Linked DNA regions of Homo sapiens: region 1 is linked to region 2. Evidence: promoter capture Hi-C in 16 types of primary human blood cells and fetal thymus (Javierre and others, 2016). All regions are on one chromosome and are shown on one strand. The core of a region is centred on a gene start or on the middle of the fragment in contact, and the rest is flanking DNA. Distances in the headings are between cores, read along the strand shown.

The links. The method cuts DNA at HindIII sites, captures the fragments that hold promoters and counts their contacts. A CHiCAGO score of 5 or more calls a contact.
Region 1: a fragment that was not itself captured here is called in contact with the fragment with the promoter of B3GNT5 in region 2 in 2 of 17 cell types (M2 macrophages and erythroblasts); the score reaches 5.2 in M2 macrophages.

The regions. Positions count from the first base shown.
Region 1 is chr3:183,403,938-183,408,643 of GRCh38, reverse strand. The region is part of intron 1 of MCF2L2 (MCF.2 cell line derived transforming sequence-like 2); the gene reads left to right. Among named protein-coding and RNA genes, the nearest start is that of MCF2L2, 22 kb to the left of the region's middle. The HindIII fragment of the contact is 5,697 bases long and covers 1-4,706 here.
Region 2 is chr3:183,251,054-183,255,501 of GRCh38, reverse strand. It overlaps B3GNT5 (UDP-GlcNAc:betaGal beta-1,3-N-acetylglucosaminyltransferase 5), which reads right to left and starts at 2,249. Exons shown (of 2, transcript NM_032047.5): 1 at 2,030-2,249. All of the region lies in intron 15 of MCF2L2 (MCF.2 cell line derived transforming sequence-like 2), which reads left to right. It overlaps LOC124906310 (a long non-coding RNA gene), which reads right to left. Exons shown (of 3, transcript XR_007096189.1): 3 at 2,947-2,967. The HindIII fragment of the contact is 12,746 bases long and covers 1-2,771 here.

The sequences.
Region 1 (4,706 bases), core at 836-3,335, 150 kb before region 2:
GCTGTGGGGAAAGAGGTCCTTCTGCCTGTTTCTCCTCTTTAATCCCCAATTTAAGACTAACCATATTTCATGAAGGCCTGCGGGAGCTGGGCACTGGGCCAGGTCTAAGGATGGGATATGAAGGAGTGGGGATAACCCCTGCCCATGGCCATAGGTCCCTAGGGGCCAGAACCAGGCCACCACCTCCACTGCTGCAGCCGCAGCATCCTGCGCAGCTCCTCAGGTGTAATGGGGGCCAGGAGGAATGAAGGAATGTCCTTCTGGAGCCTGCGGTCTAATGGGGAGGTAGACATTAAGCAAACATAAGACAGTATTTAGGCAAAGTTAGCCATCATTCCCAGGTCGCTCGTGGAGTCCCAAGCCTCCCCAGGGTTCTCTTTCATTGTTGGGCTGATGTTGTGGTCTCCTGGCCTCTCTACTCTGGGCTCCAGTTTTCACAGTGGCTGCCTTTCTTTTGCACTTGGTTGGTTTAGTTGTGAAATCCAGCTCTTTCTCCCAGTGTCTCAAAAATCATGCACACAGAAGATTGGGGGGGACAAGGTAATTTTCCGAAGATGGGAGAGCAAATGTTTACCGTCTAGCAACACAGACACTTTGAAATGGAGCCGGAGGCATCTTTGTGTCAAAAGTGTCCCCTGGCCACCCTAGCCCTCAGGGTTTCACAGGCCCTTACCCTCACCAATTTACTGGCACCTCCCATACCCCATAGCATCTTTCTCTTTCCTCTTTTTTCTCCCCCGCCGTGAAGAGGGTTTGGTGCAGGACCTAGACTAGAATGACAGGCCTTATGAACTCTTGCATTCTCATCCTCCTATTCTTCATTCCATTTTATTTCTATTGCAATATTTATACCTCTAGCCTTGCTTGCAAAGGAGGAACAAGCCCGCAGGCTGTGAAATGGGATTTTAGACCTTGACATATTCTGCAGAAATGAGAAGGAAAATTCCACTACACAAACCTCATATGTGAGGTGACCATTTTCTCCCTCAGTGCCTTGGGAAAACTGACCCAGATTTTAAAAAGAAAGATCATGTTTCCTGGTCATTTTCTGTGGCTTTGCAGTAGAATCTAAAAAAGAAGCAGAAGAAAGAGGGAGGAGAATGAGCATTATGTGATATTTCATAAGGGTTTCAAAACCTCTGTTTATAAAACTAACATATCATCCATATTTAAGGTTTGGAAGACTCAAGATGTCAATTCTTCCCAAATTGATCCATGAATTAAACACGACTTCAATAAAAAATCTATTGTATATTTTTGTAGAAATTGAGAATCAGCTAAAAGAGATACTATAGTAGGCAAAAAGAACTATAATAACAATTTTTTTTTAAAAGAGTACATTTGGAGGACTCACATTACCTAATTTTAAAACTTACTTTAAAGCAAAGTAATCACGACAGTGTGGTATTGGCAAAAGGATAGACATATAGATCAATGGAGCAGAGGAGATATTCCAGAATAGTATCATACAAATATGGCCAAATGATTTTTGACAAAGGTATAAAGGCAGTTCAGTGGAGTATGATGTAGTGGCAATTTCAACAAATGGTGCTGGAACAATTAGACATCTGTGTGCAAAACAATTGAATCCTTATGTATACCTCACCCCATATAGAAAAATTCACTCAAAGTGGATCATGGACCTAAATGTAAAACCTAATAAAAAATCTGTTAGAAAACATAGGAGGAAATCTTTGTGACCTTAGTTGGTCACAAAGACCAAAAGTCTGGTTCATAAGAGAAATTTGATTTAAGTTAGATTTTGGTAACGTTGACATTTTTTTTTCTCTGCAAAAAATACTGTTAAGAGAATGAAAAGACAACCCACCATCTGGGGAAAAAAGATTTGTGAATAGGCTGGGTGTGGTGGCTCACGCCTGTAATCCCAGCACTTTGGGAGGCCAAGGTGGGTGGATCACCTGAGGTCAGGAGTTCGAGACCAGCCTGGCCAATGTGGTGAAACCCCGTCTCTACTAAAAATACAAAAATTAGCTGGGCATGGTGGCAGGCGCCTGTAATCTCAGCTACTCGGGAGGCTGAGGCAGGAGAATCGCTTGGACCCGGGTGGCAGAGGTTGCAGTGAGCCGAGATTGTGCTACTGCACTCCAGCCTGGACAACAAGAGCAAAACTCTGTCTCAAAAAAAACCAAGACTTGTGAATAGCATATCTGACAAAGGACTCGATCCAGAATGTATAAAAAGAACTCTCAAGCTGAGTAATAAAATACTCAAATGACCCAATTTAAAAATGGGCAAAAGATTTGAATGGATACTTTATCAAGGAAGATATAAGATATACAGATGGCAAAAAACACATGAAAATATGCTCAATATCAGTAGTCATCAGTGAAATTGTGTACCTGTTAGAGTGACTAAAAAAAATGACGATACCAAGACATGGTGAAGATGACAAGGGACTGGATATCTTACACGCACTGTTGGTAGGAATGTAAAATGGTACAGCCATGTTGGAAAACAGTTGGCAGTGTCTTATAAAGTTAAACATACATTTAATATACGACTCAGTAATCGCAACCCAAGAAAATGAAAACTCACGGTCACTCAAAAATCTGTTCATGAATATTTATAGCAGCTTTATTCTTAATCAGTAAAACCTAGAAGCAGGGCCAGGTGTGGTGGTGGCTCACGCCTGTAATCCCAGCACTTTTGGGAGGCTGAGGCAGGCAGATCACTTAAGGTCAGGAGTTCGAGACAGCCTGGCCAGCATGGTAAAACCCTGTCTCTGCTAAAAATACAAAAATTAGCTGGGCATGGTGGCTTGCGCCTATAACCCCAGCTACTGGGGAGGCTGAGGCATGAGGATTGCTTGAAGTCGGGAGGCGGAGGTTGCAGTGAGCCAAGATCACGCCACTGCACTCCAACTGGGCGACAGAGTGAGACCCTGTCTAAAAAATACAAAATGAAACTGGAAACAACCCAGGTGTCCCTCACCTGGAGAATTGATAAACTGAGGTACATCTGTCCAGTGGCATATTCAATAATGAAATGATTTATTGATACAGATGATAATATGAATACATCTGAAATATATTATGCTAAGATAAAGATGTCAGATTCAAAAGGTACATACTAATCTTTCTATGATACTGGGAAAAGGTAAAACTATAGGAATGCAGTGATTTCCAGGGGTTAAGGGTGGGTGAGTGGTTTGACTCACAGGGGCAATCAACTATATTGTATCCTGATTGTGTCGATGCTTAAACGACTCCATGCATTTGTCAAAACTCATAGAACTGTATTCCCAAAAGAGTGACTTATACTATTGGTTAAAAAAACAAATTTAAGAAGAATTAGCAAACAAAAACAATACAGAAAAAATAATACATGCTCATTGTTCAATATTTGGAAAATACAGAAAAGTACAAGAAAGAAAGTCTATAATCCCATTTTCTAATAATAATCAGTTACCTTTTGAGCTATATCTCTCTAGCTTTTTGTTCCTTTGGCATTTTTACATAGTTAAGATTATATGATCTAGCTTTCTTTATATGTATAATACATATTACAGATAGAATTATATAGATTATATTCTGCTTATGAAAACTATACTGTACATTCAATTATATTGTAAATTCTATTAAGACATCTCCATAGATAATATTTTAACGGCTTTATAATTTTTTGCTACATGATTTCACCATAAATTACGTTGTTCATATAGGTTATTCCCAGTTTCCCAATGTTATTTTTAAGATGCAAGGAGCATCTTTAGTCAGAAATTTTTGCACACATTTCAGATTTTTTTTTTCTTTCTGTTTTTGAGATGGAGTCTTGCACTGTCGCCTGGGCTAGAGTGCAGTGGCAAGATCTCGGCTCACTGCAACCTCCGCCTCCCAGGTTCAAGTGATTCTTCTGCCTCAGCCTCCCGAGTAGCTAGGATTACAGGCGCCCACCACCATGCCCGGCTAATTTTTTTGTATTTTTAGTAGAGACGGGGTTTCACCATGTTGGCCAGGCTGGTCTCGAACACCTGACCTCGTGATCCACCCATCTCGGCCTCCCAAAGTGCTGGGATTACAGGCGTGAGCCACCACGCCCAGCCCATATTGTTTTACAAGTAGAATTCTAGAAAATATTATTGGATTAGAGAGTGTAAGTGTGAAGTTTTTAAATACGTTTTGGTCAGATTGCCTTCTGGGAAACTTACACCCATCAACAGGATGTGGGGTTCTTGTTTTCACTTGATCTGTTTATCAGCACTTGTGATTTTGTATGACATATGAGCTAATGACAGAACTTACAGGGTTGTTTTAAAACAATGCATGTTAAGGGAATGATGCCGTACCTGTAATATTAGCCTTCTGGTGATGCCTATTTTTATTGTTTCTTATTTGAATTTTTGCTTGTTTGATAGATAAATGTGTTATTGTATTCATTTTAATGAATTTTAAAAAATTATGAGTGAACTCTAATGATTTTAATGTTTTTATTAGCTGTTTTATTAATATTTGGCTTGGGACCAAGGTATTTGTGCATAAATTTTTTAAATGTTAAAGTTATTAAACCTTTCTTAAGTTTATAGAAGGTTTTTTTATTCTACAGTTTTCTGTTTATAATTTTGTTTTTGATGTCTTTTAACATAAAAGGTTTAAAATTGTATGTAGTCAAATCTATAGATCTTTTATTTTGTTGTTTTATAACCATCAGCTTAGCTGAGCCTCAAACCACTTTTTAAACATTTTTTT
Region 2 (4,448 bases), core at 1,000-3,499:
TGCTCAGTCAATGCTCAGAGCGTGTGCGGGAGGATAAGGAAGAGTGAGAAGGACAAGCAGGTTAAGTACAGAATGGAAACCTTTCTGGTATTGCGTTTAGCTTGCTTTAAAAGCAAAGAGTTGGCCCCAAAAAGCAGCTTTCACCTCCTCACTTGTGACCAGATAGAAAATCTACCATAAATTTATTTTGAGAAAGTTATAACGTCTGCTGCTGATCACTAATCACCCTTTCAGAAAGTTCAGGGTGGAATCATTTCGGTGCCACCACTTAATACAACTACCTTCAATCATCCTTTTCTGGGTCAACTTCGGCTTTTCACATTCCTCTCCCATCCCCCACAGGGAACAGGCAAGGTTTCCCAAAATAAAGGCACAGACGCACAAATCCAATTCTGATGGATGTACTTTCATCAGATAATTACCATAAATATGAGCCTCAGGCCACCATCGGCCACTGTGCGGTTACCACATCGGTGTACCTTTAACATGATCCATAACCTAAGAAAACCAACACCGGCCAAGAATGTACAGGGTGTAGTCAAGAGTCGAGTTGAAAACTGTTACTTTTACCTATATGGTATCCAAGCAAGCAATTGCCTCTGTCACATCAGGATTCAAAATGAAATGAGGCAGAGTCAAAGGAAAGAGTGGCCACGACCTCCCCGCCAGGGAGATCTGCGGCTGCAGTCTCCCCGCCTGCCCACTTCCCTGTCCCCATTTCCCCCGCCAGTAACTCGCCGAAAGCGTTCTCAGGTTGGCGGTTTCTTCTTTCCAGCCCGACACGGGCTTTCGACTCGAATTCAGCCCTCCAGCCGGAGGCGGGTGGCCGCAAGCCTGGGGCCCCCGGCCGGCAACCGAATTGGTGGGCGCGGCGTTCGCCTCGCGGCTCCCGCGCACGGGCCTGTCCCGCCACCGAGGAGCCGGAGCTCCTCAGGGACGGGGACCCGCAGGCCCCGGGAAGCCGCCCCAACCGGAGCTGCCCGGCCCCCGAGCCTACCTGCCGCACCTGGGCGGCGGCCCGGCCTGGGTCCCAGCCGCTGGCCACCCGCGCGGGCAGGCCGGAGGGAACAAAGGCGTTCCGGGGAGGGGACGAGCCTCCTTCTCCGCCGCGCTTTCAGAGGGCGGGCTGCCGGGGCCCGCGGTGGGAGAGGCCTCCCCGGCTTCCCGACTTCCCGGCGCTGGGCCGTGCGCGGTCCGGGCCAGGGCGGCGGGCCCCGATCCGGTGTCCACGCCAGCCACGCGCCCCCGGCCCAAGCGCGCGTTCCCACCTGAAGTCCTGGCGCCACCCGCCGGGCGAGGGCCGGCGTGCCCTCACCTCCTCGCCACTCTTCTCCTCCAGAGACCTCGCTCGGCCCGGAGTGGGCAGACTCGGAGCCTCCCGCGCCGGAGACCGCGAGCCGCTCGGCCGAGGAGGCGCGGCGGGGCGGGGGCGGGGCGGAGGGGCCGGCCCGCAGCCCCCAATGCCGGGAGCCCGCGCTGGAGACCCAGGGAGCCCAGCTCGGGGCCGCGGCACGGAGAACGAACCATCCGTGGCCTGGAGACGTATCCCGCCGAGCGGCCAGAACTTTCCCCATTTAGCGATCCGGAAAGGAAGCCAACACTCCCACCCAGAGAGGCCTCGGCCGCGGAAAGATGCGGCCGCGGCACAGCCGTGTTTTCACCACGTAACTGACCACAGACTAACTCCGCGCGGAACCACCGGCCCAGGGCGCTCCGCCAAGAGGCGGACTGTGCTGGCCTCGCGGGCCCTACGCCCAGGGAACGCCGCGGTTCCTCCCACACGGGACACCGGTTCCGCAGCGCCGCGGATTAGGATGGTCTTTTACTTTCCGAGCGGGAGCTCTAACGCAGGCTCAGGCGGGTCTTGTTAAAAGGTTTCTGGTCACACCACTTATGCGTGGAGCTCTGGGGGCCTCAGTAACAAAGTAAGGAAACTTACAGCAAACTAGGGCTGCACTGCCGCTGTCCGTTTCTAAAATACGAGAAGAGGGGGAAACCCCGCCCCAGGCCAGCTTCCCAGTGACTTTACCTCCAAGTCCAGCTTCATTTCAAGGGCAGTTTAGAGCGAAACTCACGAAGTTCAAGCCCAGCTCTTTAAATGTCCAAATCGGAGGTCGGCTTTCCTTCCCGCATCGGAGCTAAAGTCGCTGGTCTCAAGAACAAAACTTGCGGGCTTTAAATCTTGGGCGAGGACTGGACGGGCAGCGCTGGACTGGGCTCGCTTCCCCGGCGGGATGCGGGCTGTATGCGGGCGGGATGGGGGCGGGCCCGGGCGGGGGCGCGAGGCTCCCAGCCGCGCGCCCCGCACTCTCGGCGTCACGGCCCGAGCCCGGCCCCGCCCGCCAGCCGCCACCCTCCCGGCGCGTAGGTGAAGGTGATGGGCCCCGCCCCAGTTTGTTCTTGTCTGTAGATGAGAATTCCAGGAAGTGTTTCCCTGCCGCTCGTCAGTTAATTGCGATCACTTACTCAAATGGCCAACTGGAAGCCAGAGTGCACATGAATGTCCTCTTTGAGCTATTTTCCTCCTTTAGAATACTTCATGCAGGTAACCAGACAATATCGAGAGATGCGGACTTCTACTCAACGAGAGAGATTATAAATGAATCCTGGATGCGCTTGATTTCTTGTTTCCCGCATGTTGTTAGACCTCTCCCTAAAGCCACAAAACATTTAACGGAGATAATATTTTGAGCGATTCTGTTATTGTACATATTTCAGAACATGACAGAAAAGCAAAAGATTAACCCAAATACTTTAGTAAAATAAAAGCTTTGAGTTTGTCGTAAAAGGAACAAGACAGGTAATGAGTTAAATGTATGATTGTCGAATCAGGGTTTAAAACAGTGGGGCCAGCAGACACGGTGGCTCACACCTGTAATCCCATCACTTTGGGAGGCTGAGCCGCAGGAGGATTGCTTGATCCCAGGAGTTAGAGACCAGCGTGGCCAACATAGCAAGACCCCATCTCTAAAAGAAAAAACACACACACAAAATGAAAACTGTTGTTCATTCAAACTAGATTTTTAGGAAGTTTTTAAATTGCTTTCCTTAAGCTGGTCAGCATCTTTTAAATCATGCAGTTCTTTTCATATGCTGCCTACACAGGGCATGGCTCAGCATCTCCCAGACTGTGGCACTGCATGTTCATCAGACCACAGACAGAAATATTTACATGTGTGATTTGCAAAGGAGTCATTGACAGTGACCCACAAATAAGCTGATTCATTGTTAATACAGCACTAATGACATACCTTCTCTAATAAAATGCTGACTGAAATCCCACATGCATTTCCCCCAGCCATCACATGTGTATGTTGTATATCTGTGCAAATATTCAATTACAATTATATTCCTTTCAGATCATTTGGAGCTAGGTCCATGTGTCAGTATACATATGTTCCACATACATGAGCACATAGAACTGTACCCACGAGAAATACAAACTGACCAAAACAGTGGTAGACACACATACAAATCACATATTCACATCATACTAGATACAGATAAACACACCAGATAGATAAATGGTTTCAAAAGTATGTCTGGAGATTGGAAATACGATGCAAGTTTTTTGGTGGTAGGAGGGAGAGATGAGAGGGTGTGAAGGAGAGATAGGCAAGGTCAAGTAGTCCAGAATGCCCACTCTGGGATCCACACAAGCTCAGATCACACATGCGAGAGGACAGGCAAGTCCCCTTTGCTTGTTAGGGAAGATTTCCTAGAGCAGCCTGGCTTCCTGTCCCACCCAGAGAGAGGGGAAGAGAATGACAGATTTGATGGTATTGATGGTGCTATGCTCAGTTACTTTTATCAAGAGGGAGTGCATGAAGATATTGAGATGTGTTAGAAATAAACTTAGGTAATAATAATGATGCTGACTTGGCCAGCATGAAGAAGGAGGACCGTGTTGGCATGCTTTCCTTATCCAAGTAGCAGCTGGTAAGCAGAGAGCCCTGTGATTAGATCTATACATGACTTTGGAATGACCAAAATCTGCATGTTAGACTCGGCAGGGATAGATAAGGCACAGAAAGAGCAGAGGAGTAGCAGATTTAGGAGAGATGATCAGAGAGTAAGGCACATGCATCATTAGTAGTGGGGAGGGGAGACTAAACCCTGAGTACAAGAGAACCTGGGAGATGGTGGGAGCAACAGGGGCCCAAGGAAGAGGCCTGTGTTACTAAAATCATGAAAGGAGAAGCAGGTCTGATAACCGAGTGGCTTAACACAGCTGAAGTGTAGCAGCAGTATCAGGCTTGACCTGTTTAGCGAAATTTGTCTTTCTGGATTCTGTTAGACCAGATTTCCTCACAGGCCCTATAGGGAACCTGTCCAGTGAATCTGTGAATTCAAACACATCACGGGCCATGTATTCTGAAGCAGGCCGGTGTTCATTCAAGGCCTGGGCTGTTAGAGAGACTCTGGTTGTTTCCTGACCTGGCTTCCTA